Linked DNA regions of Homo sapiens: region 1 is linked to region 2. Evidence: promoter capture Hi-C in human tissues and cell types (Jung and others, 2019). All regions are on one chromosome and are shown on one strand. Each heading gives the region's core, a stretch centred on a gene start or on the middle of the fragment in contact. The rest is flanking DNA. Distances are from core to core; before and after follow the strand shown. Region 1 has its middle 220 kb from the start of MAP2. Region 2 holds the start of CRYGA (crystallin gamma A).

Region 1 (6,491 bases), core at 2,766-5,265, 1.0 Mb after region 2:
TCCTCAATCCTGGAATTCTCAGTCCCCAGAATTTTAAGCCAATAAATTTTTGTTCATTATAAATTACTCAGTCTGTGGCTTTCTGTTATAGCAACACAAAACAAACTAAGACAGTATATTGTAAAATACTTAGAGGTGAATGAAAATGAAAACACAATATACCAAAACCTATGAGACACAGCGAAAGCAGTGCTATAAGGAAAATCTATAGCTAAAACTGCTTACATTTTAAAAACAGAAATATCTCAAATCAGCAACCTAATTTTACAAATTAAGGATCTAGGGGAAAAAAGAACAAACTAAACTCAAAGCTAGCAGAAGAAAATAAATAATCAAGATTAAAGCAGAGACAAACAAAATAGAGAAATAAAAGACAATAGAGAAAATAAAGAAAAATAAAAGTTGGATCTTTGAAAAAGATCAACAAAATTGACAAACGTTTAGCTAGACTAATAAAACAAAGACTCAAATTACAAAAATCAGAAATAAAAGTGGAAACATTACTTCTGATTCTCAAGAAAGAGATAGACTATAAAAGTACCATGAACAACCATATACCAACAAAGTAGATAGCCTAAATAAAATGGGCAAATTCCTAGAAATAAAAAAAACCTACAAAGACTAAATCATGATGAAATAAGAAAGCTGAATAGACCTGTTATACTGGTTATCAAAATCTCCCAAAAAAGAAAATCCCTGAACCTGATGGCTTCAATAGTAAATTCAATCAAACATATAAACAGGTACAAACACCATCCTTTTCAAACTTTTCCAAAACATTGGAGAGAACAGAACACTTCATAAGTCATTTTATGAGTCCATCATTGCCCTGACACCAAAGCCAGACAAAAACAGTACAAGAAAATAAAACTGCAGACAAATATGCCTTGTGAATATTGATGCAAAAATCCTCAACAAAATATTAGCTATCTGAATCCATCAGTATATTAAAAAAATTATATATCATGACCAAACAGAATCCATTCCTGATATGCAAGGATGATTTACCATACAAAAATCCATCAGTATAATACACCACGGTAACAGAATGGAGGAAGAAAACATGTCATCATCTCAACTAACGCAGAAATAACATTTGATAAAATCCCACACCTTGTTATGATAAAGACACACAACAAACTACATCAACATAATAAAAACCATACATGAAAAACTCACAGAGAACATCATACTCAATGGTGAAAGAATGAAAGCTTTTCTGGTAAGATCAAGAAGGCAACGATGCCTGTTTACACCACTTCTATTTAAAATACTACTAGAAGTCCTAGCCAAAACAATTAGGCAACAAAAGGAAATAAAACACATCTAAACTAGAATGGAAGAATTAAAATTGTGTTTGTTCACAAATTATATAATCTTATACATAGAAAACCCTAAAGACTCTACAAAAAACTATTAGAACTACTAAGCAAATTTAGCAAAGTAGCAGGATACAAAGTGAACACAAGAATTAGTTTCATTTCTGTATACTAACAATGAGCAATCTAAAAAGGAAATTATTAAAACAATTCCATTTATAATAGCATCAAAAGGAATAAAAAGTCAGGAATTAACCAAAGAAGTAAAGACGTGGACAATAAAAACTAAAAAACATTGCTGAAAAAAGTTGAAGAAGACATAAATAAAAGGACACCTCATGTTCATGGGATGGAGGACTTAATCTTGTTAAAATATCAATACTAGCCCCCCAAAAACCTACAAATTCAATGCAATTCCTATGAAAATCCCAATGATGTTTTTCACAGAAATAAAAAATCCATCCTTAAATTTATATGTAATCTGAAAGATCTATGAATAGCCAAAACAACCATGAAAAAAGAAAGAGCAAATTTGGAGAACCCACACTTCCTGATTTCAAAACTTACTACAAGGCTCCAGTAATCAAAACAATGTAGTACTGGCATCAAGACAGATATACAGAACACTGGAATATAATAATGAGCCCAGAAATAAACCCTTGTATATATTGCCAAGAAGAGTGTCAAGACCTTTCAATGAGAAAAGGACAGTCTGATGGTGCTGGGAAAACTGGATATCTACATGCAAAAAAATGAAGGTGGATGTTTACCTAACACCATATACAAAATTTAACTTAAAATGAATTATAGACTTAAATCTAAGAATGAAAACTATAAAACACTCAGAAAGAAACACAGGGCAAAAGTTATATGACATTGGATTCAGCAATGATTTCTTCAATATGACACTAAAGGCACAGGCAACAGAAGAAAAAATAAGACAAATTGGACTTTGTGAAAATTAAAGACTTTTATGCATCAAAGGGCATTATCAATAGAGTGAAAAGGCAACTGAAAGAATGGGATCAACTATTTGCAAATCATATATATGACAAGGAATTAATAGCCGTATATATAAAGAACTTCTAAAACTCAGTGACAACAAAAGCCACCTGATGCAAAAGATATACACATGCCCAATAAGTACATGTAAAGGTGATTAACATCACTAATCATTACGGTAATGCAAACAAAAACTGCAATGAAACACTACCTCACACTCATTAGGATGGCTACTATCAAAAAACAGAAGATAACTGTTGGCAAAATGTAAAGGACTTGAAACCCTGATGCGCCATAGTGGGAATGTAAATGGTGGTGCTGCTGTCGAAAACAGTATGGCAGTTTCTCAATAAATTATAAATAGAACCACCATTTGATCTAGCAATTCAACTTATGGGTATATACTCAAAAGAATTGAAAGCAGGGTCTCAAAGAGACATTTGCACACTCATGTTCATGTTTAGCATTACTCACAATAGCTAAAATGTGGAAGCAACCCAAGTATTCAGGGGTAGATGGAAGAATAAGCAAAATGTAGTATGGATATGAAATGGAATACTATACAGCCTTAAAAAGGAAGGATACTCTGACATATTCTACAGCATGAATGAACCTTCCAGGTATTATGCTAAGTGAAACAAACTAGTCACAAAAAGACAAATACTGCATGATTCTACTTACTTAGTACTTAGAATAGTCAAAATCATAGAACCAAAAAGTAGAATGGTGGTTTCCAGGGTCTGGAGGAAGAGGAGAATGAGGAGTTGTTATGTAATGGGCAAAAAATCTCAATTTTGGAAGAAGAAAAATATTCTGGAGATGAATGATGGTGATAGTTGCACAGCAATATGTATGTTCTTATCCCACTAATCTATACACTTGAAAATGGTTAAAATGTTAAATATTATGCTAGGCTTATTTTATGACAATTTTTAAAATTTCATAGGTTATAAAAATGCCAATTATAATAGCAATAATAACCTCAAATAAGACTATACATATTTTTTAGTGTTTATAATTATGAAGTCAGGATCTGAAGTCAGATTGTTTGAGTTCAAATACTGGCTCTATTACATATTGGTGTAGAGAATTTTGGCAAATTCAGTAACCTCTGGGCTTCAGATTCTTTCTCCGTAAAATGTAGATGATAATACTACTTACCTCATAGTGCTGTTACGAGGCGTAAGTGAATTTAAAAATGTAGATGATAATACTACTTACCTAATAGTACTGTCATGAGGCATAAGTGAATTTAAAAATGTAGATGATAATACTGCTTACCTCACAGTGCTGTTATGAGGCGTAAGTGAATTATTATTTGCAAATCTTTTTGAATAGTGCCTGGAGCATAGCCTGCCCTCAATAAAGTTGGCTCCAGTTTATATTATTGCCTTCTGAACATTTACACTCCATATACTGGAAGAACATTTTTGGATATGTACATTGGCTCCCCTCACCTCCTTTGTTTGAAACACTCCAAAGTCTTGTTGCTTTTAGATAAAAAAATCAAACATGTTTAAGTGGCCTACAGGGCCTCAAATTCTGGCCCCATACCCTTCCCTTCAGCCTCATTTTGCACCAGGTTCCCTATGGCTCTTAGGGCTTCTACAACACTCACCTTACAGATCTTTTTATCTCTATTCTCCCTACTGCCATAGGATATTTGTACATGCTTCTGCCTGAAGTGTTCTACTTCCCTCTCTTCCAGCTCATTCTTACGCTTCCCTAGCTTATTAACACTTCTAGGAAGCAGCTCCTTCGGGACTTTATTATTATGTTAATACCCTATTATTTTAAAGCTTCAATATTACCATGTTTTTTCAAAATGAAAATTCCAGGAAGAGTGGTTCTGAGTGGCTTACCTTGAGTCATATTCTCATTTTCAGGGAAGGGAAAGAGAAGGCACTTTGTTTGACAGATCCGCCAAGACCCTATCCATGGAATCAGAGTAGATGCCCAAAACTAAATCGGGGGACATCCTAGGGTAATAATGGCTGGACAGGAAAAACACAGATTCTCAGTACAGGTAACATTTGGTTAAGGTCAGTCTCACACACTAGCCTAAAACTCCATGAGAAGAGAGGCTATGTCTGCTTTGGCTAACCACTTTATCCTCAGCACCCAGAACAATGCTTGAAATGTAGTTACTCTAATAAGTATTAACGGTTGTGGAAGGTTGTTATACTAGGCATTGGAGACATAATCTGGAACAAAACAGATTTGGTCCCAACCTTCTTGGAGCTCAGAATAAGAAGGCAGACGAGATGGCCTTTAGAATATCTTCTTCAAAATGAGATTTTATCAACCTATTTTTCACTGAAAATGTGTTATATATGCATTCTGAAGATGGTCTTGAGCTTTGGAAGGTAATGTTTAAATTCTTGAGGCTTTGCCGCTTTTAAACTTACAACTTTTTTTGAAGAAAGCAAATTTCCATTCAAATTTTTAATAATATTTTAAAATTATTTTTTACGATGCCCAGAAATTTTGAAAATAATTGTTATTTTAAATTTACAATATTTTCTTTGTTGAAATTCAGAAGACTGATTTTAAAATGCTCTGGTTTAGGCTTTCATTTTAGATCAAAGTACCCCATCAACTAGCAATTTTTGGAGGAAGGGAATCCTCATAAACCAGCATTCATGAAAGGAAAGGTACTGATTTTATGGGACAGCAAATATAAATGCTTATTTTTATTTGAAGGTACATTTAAGCATAAATTAATAATAAAAACAATGTTATAAAACTATTATAAGTATTTTAATATTAGTTAATAGATATCTGTTGTTTTGAAAATTAGAAGACATAGGTAAAAAAGAACTTTACATGAGGAAAATCCTTTAGCCAGTTGTTTACCTACATCCTAGACCAAATTAAACTGCTGCATTGGCAAGGACAATTGAGTTCATTCATTCCACATACATATAGCAAAGCACTCTCTATGGGCACCATGGCAGAAGGTAGATGGATAAAGCCAAGATTATAGCCACCAGGTAACTTAAGAGATATAATACATTTTCAAGGATTTGTGACACAAGTAGTTATATGACAACTTCCGTGTGTGGTACCAAAGGCAATAGGCCTATAAACTTAATTCCTTTACTAATATTACCAATCTGGTGCGTAATGGTGCTGTACAAAGTACTTGGAGTTCATTTGTTAGACTTTTTTTTTTGTCTTGCAGGAAAAGTACCAGAGAGTTCTGTGAACATTCTTTCTATTTAAGATTTCTTCAGGCTTTCAGATATCTGTAGGCCATATCAGTCAATATAAAAAATGAACTGAAGTTTTGTGTACATGATGACCACAGGCTATTAAAAACTTATTTGTCTTGCAGATTTTACTCATCCAGGAAATGAACTGCCAGAATATGTGATGAGACTAGAAGTTACATTTAGGAACTATCAGGGGAAATTCAGCCAGATATCGGGTGAAATTCGCCCCCGATATTTCACGTAAGTTCTTTTCCATTTTCCCTAAGTGTTGGCCAGTCTGAGAAATAAAGGGACAGAGCACAAAAGAGAGAAATTTAAAAGCTGGGTGTCCGGGGGAGACATCACATGTCGGCAGGTTCCGTGATGCCCCCTGAGCCGTAAAACCAGCAAGTTTTTATCAGTGATTTTCAAAAGGGGAGGGAGTGTACGAATAGGGTGTGGGTCACAGAGATCACATGCTTCACAAGGTAATAGAATATCACAAGGCAAATGGAGGCAGGGCGAGATGACAGGACCACAGGACCGGGGCAAAATTAGAATTGCTAATGAAGTTTCGGGCATGCATTGTCATTGATAACATCTTATCAGGAGACAGGGTTTGAGAGCAGACAACCGATCTGACCAAAACTTATGAGGTGGGAATTTCCTCGTCCTAATAAGCCTGGGAGCGCTATGGGAGACTGGGGCTTATTTCATCCCTACAGCTGCAACCATAAAAGATGGCCGCCCACGAAGCAGCCATTTCAGAGGCCTACCCTCAGGGACGCATTCTCTTTCTCAGGGATGTTCCTTGCTGAGAAAAAGAATTCAGTGATATTTCTCCCATTTGCTTTTGAAAGAAGAGAAATATGGCTCTGTTCCACCCAGCTCACCGGCAGTCAGAGTTTAAGGTTATCTCTCTTGTTCACTGAACATTGCTGTTATCCTGTTCTTTTTTCAAGGTGCCCAGATTTCA
Region 2 (6,378 bases), core at 1,839-4,338:
CCGACCAACACGGTGAAACCCCGTCTCTACTAAAACTACAAACTTAGCCGGGTGTGGTGGTGCATGCCTGTAATCCCAGTTACTTGGGAGGCTGAGGCAGGAGGATTGATTGAACCTGGGAGGCGGAGGTTGCAGTGAGCCGAGATAGCGCCATTGCACTCTGGCCTGGTGACAGAGCAAGACTCCATAACAAAACAAATTATAAAATAAATAAATAAAGATAAACAAGAGCCACTTAGTGCAGGGAACACAACTTGTATATTTATTATGTTTCTATGGGGATCACAACAAGGCAGGCACAGCTTAGTACAAATCGGTGACCCGTCTCAAAGAGCCGACTTTGGCATCTGCACCCCCCCAGTCGTGGTACCTTCTGTAGTCCCCAGGCCTCAGCAGATACTGCCGCCCCCGGTAGTTGGGCATTTCATAGAGGACCCAGCAGCCCTCCAGTACGTGGAGGGAATAGATCTCAGGGAGACGGAACAGTTCTGGAACACAGGCGCAGTCATCAGTGAGCTCAGACATAAGGCCTCGGTAGTCATCTCTCTCGTACAGCCTTAACTTGTGCGAGCTGGTCTGTCATGGCAATAAACAAAAGAACAAAAATAAACAGCATGCATCCTTGGGTGTCAACGAAAGTGACACAATCAGTCTGCATCTTCATGAAGCATGGCTTTTATTTTATTTTTGAGATAAAGGTCTTGCTGTGTTGCCCAGGCTGGAGTACAGTGGCAGGATCACTGCTCACTGCAACTTTCACCTCCTGGGCTTAAGTAATCCTCCCACCTCAGCCCCCCAAGTAGCTGGGATCACAGGTGTGCACTGTGACACCCGGCTAATTTATTTTTAAAAATTTTTTTGTAGAGAGGGAGTCTCACTATATTGCCCAGGCTGGTCTTGAATCCCTGGGTTCAAGTGATTCTCTCACCTTGGCCTCCCAAAATGTTGGGATTACAAATGTTGGGATTGCACCTGGTTTGAAACATGGTTTTTTAAACCAGTTGATAAAGTGTTTCTCCCCTGAACCCACTTTCAATGTTGTTATTCTAACAAATTAGGGAAAATATTAAAACGAATCTGACCTGATCAATGAACTGGAGATGTTGTGGAAGAAACAAACATTAAAATACAGGGAATAAAAGTGTGTTCTTTGTAAGCAATCATCAATACAATTGTAGTCAGTGAGTCTGTAGTGAGGATTTCAACTCTCATTTCCATTTTGACTCCATATAATTGAGTCTTATCAAGCTTGTTTTTGAGTCACTTTTTGCACTTATAATTTACAGTGATTTATATTTACACTGAGTCCACATGTATTTTCAAGTGACATTTTGCCAAGTCACTTGTGCCATTTGGGTTTCTTGCCCCAGAGAAATGCCTATTTTATTTATACCTCTTTGCGCATCTGCAAATTTTTCTGGCCTAAATTTGTTTTTTTATTTTTTTATTTTTTTTTAGACGAAGTCTCGCTCTGTCACCAGGCTGGAGTGCAGTGGCATGATCTCGGCTCACTGCAACCTCCGACTCCTGGGTTCAAGCAATTCTCCTGTCTTAGCCTCCTGCTTAGCTAGGACTACAGGCATGCACCACCATGCCTGGCTAATGTTTTGTATTTTGGTAGAGACAGGGTTTCACCATGTTGGCCAAGCTGGTCTTGAACTCCTGACCTCAAGTGATCTGCCCAGCTCAGCCTCCCAAAGTGCTAGGATTACGGGCGTGAGCCACTGAGCCTGGCCGTGATTTCAATTCTTGAATCTCCTTGTCACACTACATAATTTGGTGCCAACAGAAAGTGTAAATACATGCTGCACGTGATTAAAAAAGATTAAGCAGCATTTTGATGAGGACCATGTTCTATGAAATCCTAATCAATTGTGTGTCTCTGATATTTATAAGAAACTAGTTGATAATGACTCCTGGAAATTATAAATCCACACAAGTTGAAACATATTTTCCTAGGTTCTAGTAAGTCCTAGAATGTAGTGAAAAAAATTTCCAATGCAGTCAGAATACATTATACCTATATTGTTATCTCATAGTCTGTTAACTTTTCATCATTAAAAAATAATTATCATGGCCGGGCGCAGTGGCTCATTCCTATAATCCTAGCACTTTGGGAGGCCGAGGTCGGGAGTTCGAGACCAGCCTGACCAACATGGAGAAACTCTGTCTCTACTAAAAATACAAAATTAGCTGGGCATGGTGGCACATGCCTGTAATCCCAGCTACAAGGGAGGCTGAGGCGGGAGAATCGCTTGAACCTGGGAGGCAGGGGTTGTGGTGAGCTGAGATTGTGCCATTGCACTCCAGCCTAGGCAACAAGAGCGAAAGCGAAGTTCTGTCTCAAAAAAAAAAATTATCTAGATAAACTAGATAGACTTTTCTTTTTTTTCTTTCTTTCTTTTTTTTTTTTTTTACTACTGAATAAGGTGACTTTTATGTAGAAATTAGGGATCACCTAGATGTTACCAAGTTTAATTTAAAGGCTATGTTGTGATTTCCCATGCCCTAAAATGATGTCCTTAAGTAAGAAAAATAGAGATTATTGTTACTTTTTTTTTTTATATATGTTTGAGGGTCAGGCCTTGCTATTCTTACTGTGAACACTCATCCTGTGTTGGAACAAACTGACTTTTATAAACAGGAATTGATGGCCATGGATCATTGATGCTTTCACATCAGTCAAGTTGAAGCAAGACTCACATGAGGAATTATACGGCAGGATTGGACCGAGTCGCTGAGGCCCATCCAGTGCTGATAGTCGGGGTACTTGCCTCGGCGCAGGAAGTACTGGTGGCCCTGGTAATTGGGACGCTCATAGAGCATCCAGCAGCCGCTGTCTACTCGGATGGAGTTGCAGCGGCTGAAGTAGACCCGCAGGTTGGGGCAGTCACTGATGCAATTGTAGCAGCGACCCTGAAAGTCTCGGTCCTCGTAGAAGGTGATCTGAGGTAGAAATAAGGTGACAGTAGACAGTCAGCTGGAAGGAACATCCCCACACACCACAGACCCCCAATAGACATGGCACAGCACCTCCACAGGCTCACCTTCCCCATGGTTGTTGACAGAGGGTGATTAGCATCTAGTATGATAGGGACAAAGGGGCAACTGGTATATATAGCAGGGAAGCTGCTGTGTTGGCAAAAACAACACAAAAGGGACCTGGGGGTGGTGCGTAGGGGGATTTCTGTATTCTCTTTTTTTTTTCATTTGAGATCATGGGGCAGTGGGCTCTCTCTCTTTCTGGCATTTTCGAGTTGTCCTCACTAGCTCCAGTGAAAGGTATTAAAGTCAGCAGAGCCATTATGACCTTGGAGACAAAGGGCACACTTCTCATCCTATGCAGCTCACTAGAAATGCATTACATGCCCAGCATTCTGCAATGTTTGCCTATGGAAACTGCTGAGATGGAGGTTGGTGGTTCCATCTGAGGTCACTTATGAGAACACATGCGTTCCAGAAGGACTTGAAGTGTGAAGAGGCAACAAAAAAAATCCCAGACAGAAAATCCTCTAATTGAAAGACAATTATATTTCTTAAGTGACTTCATCAGTATGATAGGGTTTTGATAAAAATATTTTGCCTATATTTATGTAGGGAAAACATAAGATTAGAAGTGTGTACTATACCAACATATCAATCATGGTAATCAATGAATGGCAAGATTATAGATCTTAGCTTTATGTTGTTATATTTTGTTTTTTGCTGCTGTTTTCTTAATTTTCTATTATATCTGCCATCTTCAGCCAGACAGAAAAAAAAATTCGATTATAAATATAACAATTTCATGAGATGAAAAAATAATAAAATCAATCTTTAAATGTATGACTTTGAGGTGCTGGTGAAAAGCAGTAAATACTGGAAGCAGGTATATTTAATCAAGAGATTAAACACTTCTTGAGCTAAAAATAAAAAGAAACCCTGAGAATCTGTGAGAGGCTCGAAGAGCAGAAAAATACACAGGAACATTTCACTCCCCTCCCCCTGCCACCCTCCTTCTAGCATTGCTTTTATTTTTTAAAATTAGCGTGATGATTTGCCTGTGTTTTTCCTTTCAATAGTATCACTGTTTCATTGAACCCAAGTGACTGCCTAACAGCCTTCTCCATTGCTGCCAACTTATTGATTTAGAAGTACTCCTCAGATGTGCAAGTGTGGAGGAAGACTCCAAACCCCAGACTGTCTTTTGTCATTCCACATGTATGTAGGAAGATGAAATCAAACACCTTTGTGCTTTAGACCCACCGAGGGATTCTAAAAGAGTATTTGACCACAGCTAGCAACACATTCACAATGTCATTTGTGAAAATCCTCAGGCAGCATGTAAGGCAAACGCGCAGGTGGTAAAAGGAGAGACAGCAGTAGCTACCGAGAAAAAAATGTTTCCTCATAACTAGCAGAGCTAGGCAAAAGAAAACTGGGTGAAGTCCTATGAAGCTAAACACCTAGCAGTGCATGCAGGGACCGCAAGTTGCTGATTCCCTCCTTTGCCTCCCCCTAATTAGCTGCAGGCTTACTGGTAAATCTTAGAACCATAATCAAACCCAGTGTGGAAAACGCTGCATTGGTCTCCCAGCCCCACATGAGAATATACCACCATTTTCAGAAAAAGTCTACAATCTCCATCTGTGTTTTTGTACATGCTGATGAAAACTGTTCTGTAGACAGATGGCACACCAAAACCTTAAGAAATGTATTATGTGTACTGACATTCATGTGATCAAGTTGTTATTACATACATTGATAGGCTAAGCCATGTGCCTAATCAGCATTTTGGAAAGGTACTAAAAGACCAGAACATCTTCCCTCCTAGTAGTCATTATAGTCTACTGAGAGAAAGCCTGTATTCATTTTTTTAATGCTTTATTGAAATGATTTAAACATTCTTTTCATATGAGAACACAGTAAAGGCAATCAATGACAGATTAATTTTATTTTGGATTAACTCTTTGGAAATCTGCCTCCCACTCCATCACTGTGCAATATTCAATGCCACACATTTGTAAAATGTGCTACAAAGCCAGCTTGCTCTAACACAGAAATACTATATACTTTCTGAATTCTCCAGCAGTCTTCCAGTCACAATGAAGTAGCATAAGGTCACAGTTTTTTTTTTTAAGAAAATGTAGCCATGCAATATGCTTCTAAAAGAAGAAAGCTCAACATCAAAAATAACACTTCAGTGCAGTTGTACCAAAAACAGTTGTAAAGAAAAATGTACTGGCAAGAGCTGTGGTTTTAAGATGATGCTTCTCGTCTGCTCCCAGAGAATCTATTATGAAGTTCCATGGTACAATTCCAATTTTCTAAGTGACCTGCAGAATAAAAGATGATTTTGGTATCAAGCACATCAATTTAACATGGACACAGACATTACTTTAAGTCTATAGGAAGTTAAGGTCAAATATCAGATACTAACTTACTGACAAAGATAGATTAGATTAATGTAATTACAAAGGAATTTTCATGGAATTATTCTGATATATTTGGAAATTGAGTTATATTTCCCAACTAAATGCAATATGTGATCCCATACTGGATCTTATACAGAAGGAAAAAAATGCTTAAAAAGAACATTATTGGGTCAATTGACAAAATTGGTGTATAGAGAGTACATTAAATAAAAGTACCAATAATAGATATTCTGAAGTTGATAACTATTCTATGGTTATTTAAGAGAATTACTTTGTTCTTAAGAAATACACACAGAGGTACATAGAGTAAAGTGGTAGAGTATATATACATAACTTCTAATGGCTCAGAAAAAAATTATATATCTTTATCTATATACAGAGAGACAAAGACAGAATATAATAAAGCTAACAGAACAAAACATTAACCATTCGTGACTGTATAAAAGGAATACGTGGGTTCTTTGTATATTATTCTTGCAAATTTTCTCTAAGTTTGAAATTATTTTTACATTAAAAAGTTATACTTCTCTTAACCAATCCTACCCAAAGCAAATCAGTTTTTGGCCTTTTAGCAGTTATGTATTATGCTTGTAGGATATTATTTTGAATTTCTGATGTATTGCTTTGGATTTAAATTTAAATTGTCCTCTCTCTATGTCTCATTTCCTTTCATGATAGCATGAATTTCTCATGAGTGGTGATGAAGAGAGCGATTATATTATTGCTTGCCACTGTCCTGACACTTTTTTTTTTTGAGACGGTGTCTCACTCTGTCACCCAGGCTGGAGTGCATGCAGTGGCGGGATCTCGGCTCACTGCAAGCTCCGCCTCCTGGGTTCATGCCATTCTCCTGCCTCAGCCTCCAAGTAGCTGGGACTACAGGCGCCACCACGCCCAACTAATTTTTTCTATTTTTTAGTAGAGATGGGGTTTCACCATGTTAGCCAGGATGGTCTTGATCTCC

What was found. The method cuts DNA at HindIII sites, captures the fragments that hold promoters and counts their contacts. A contact is called where the count stands out against the background at its distance.
Region 1: a contact is called between a fragment that was not itself captured here and the fragment with the promoter of CRYGA in region 2, in 1 of the 25 tissues and cell types used here (stomach).

The regions. Positions count from the first base shown.
Region 1 is chr2:209,196,738-209,203,228 of GRCh38, forward strand. No RefSeq gene overlaps it. Among named protein-coding and RNA genes, the nearest start is that of MAP2, 220 kb to the right of the region's middle. The HindIII fragment of the contact is 7,431 bases long and covers 301-6,491 here.
Region 2 is chr2:208,160,501-208,166,878 of GRCh38, forward strand. It overlaps CRYGA (crystallin gamma A), which reads right to left and starts at 3,089. Exons shown (of 3, transcript NM_014617.4): 1 at 3,048-3,089; 2 at 2,704-2,946; 3 at 240-576. The coding sequence starts at 3,056. The coding sequence ends at 304. C2orf80 (chromosome 2 open reading frame 80) reads right to left here. Exons shown (of 9, transcript NM_001099334.3): 9 at 4,847-5,315. The coding sequence ends at 5,307. The HindIII fragment of the contact is 14,122 bases long and covers 1-6,378 here.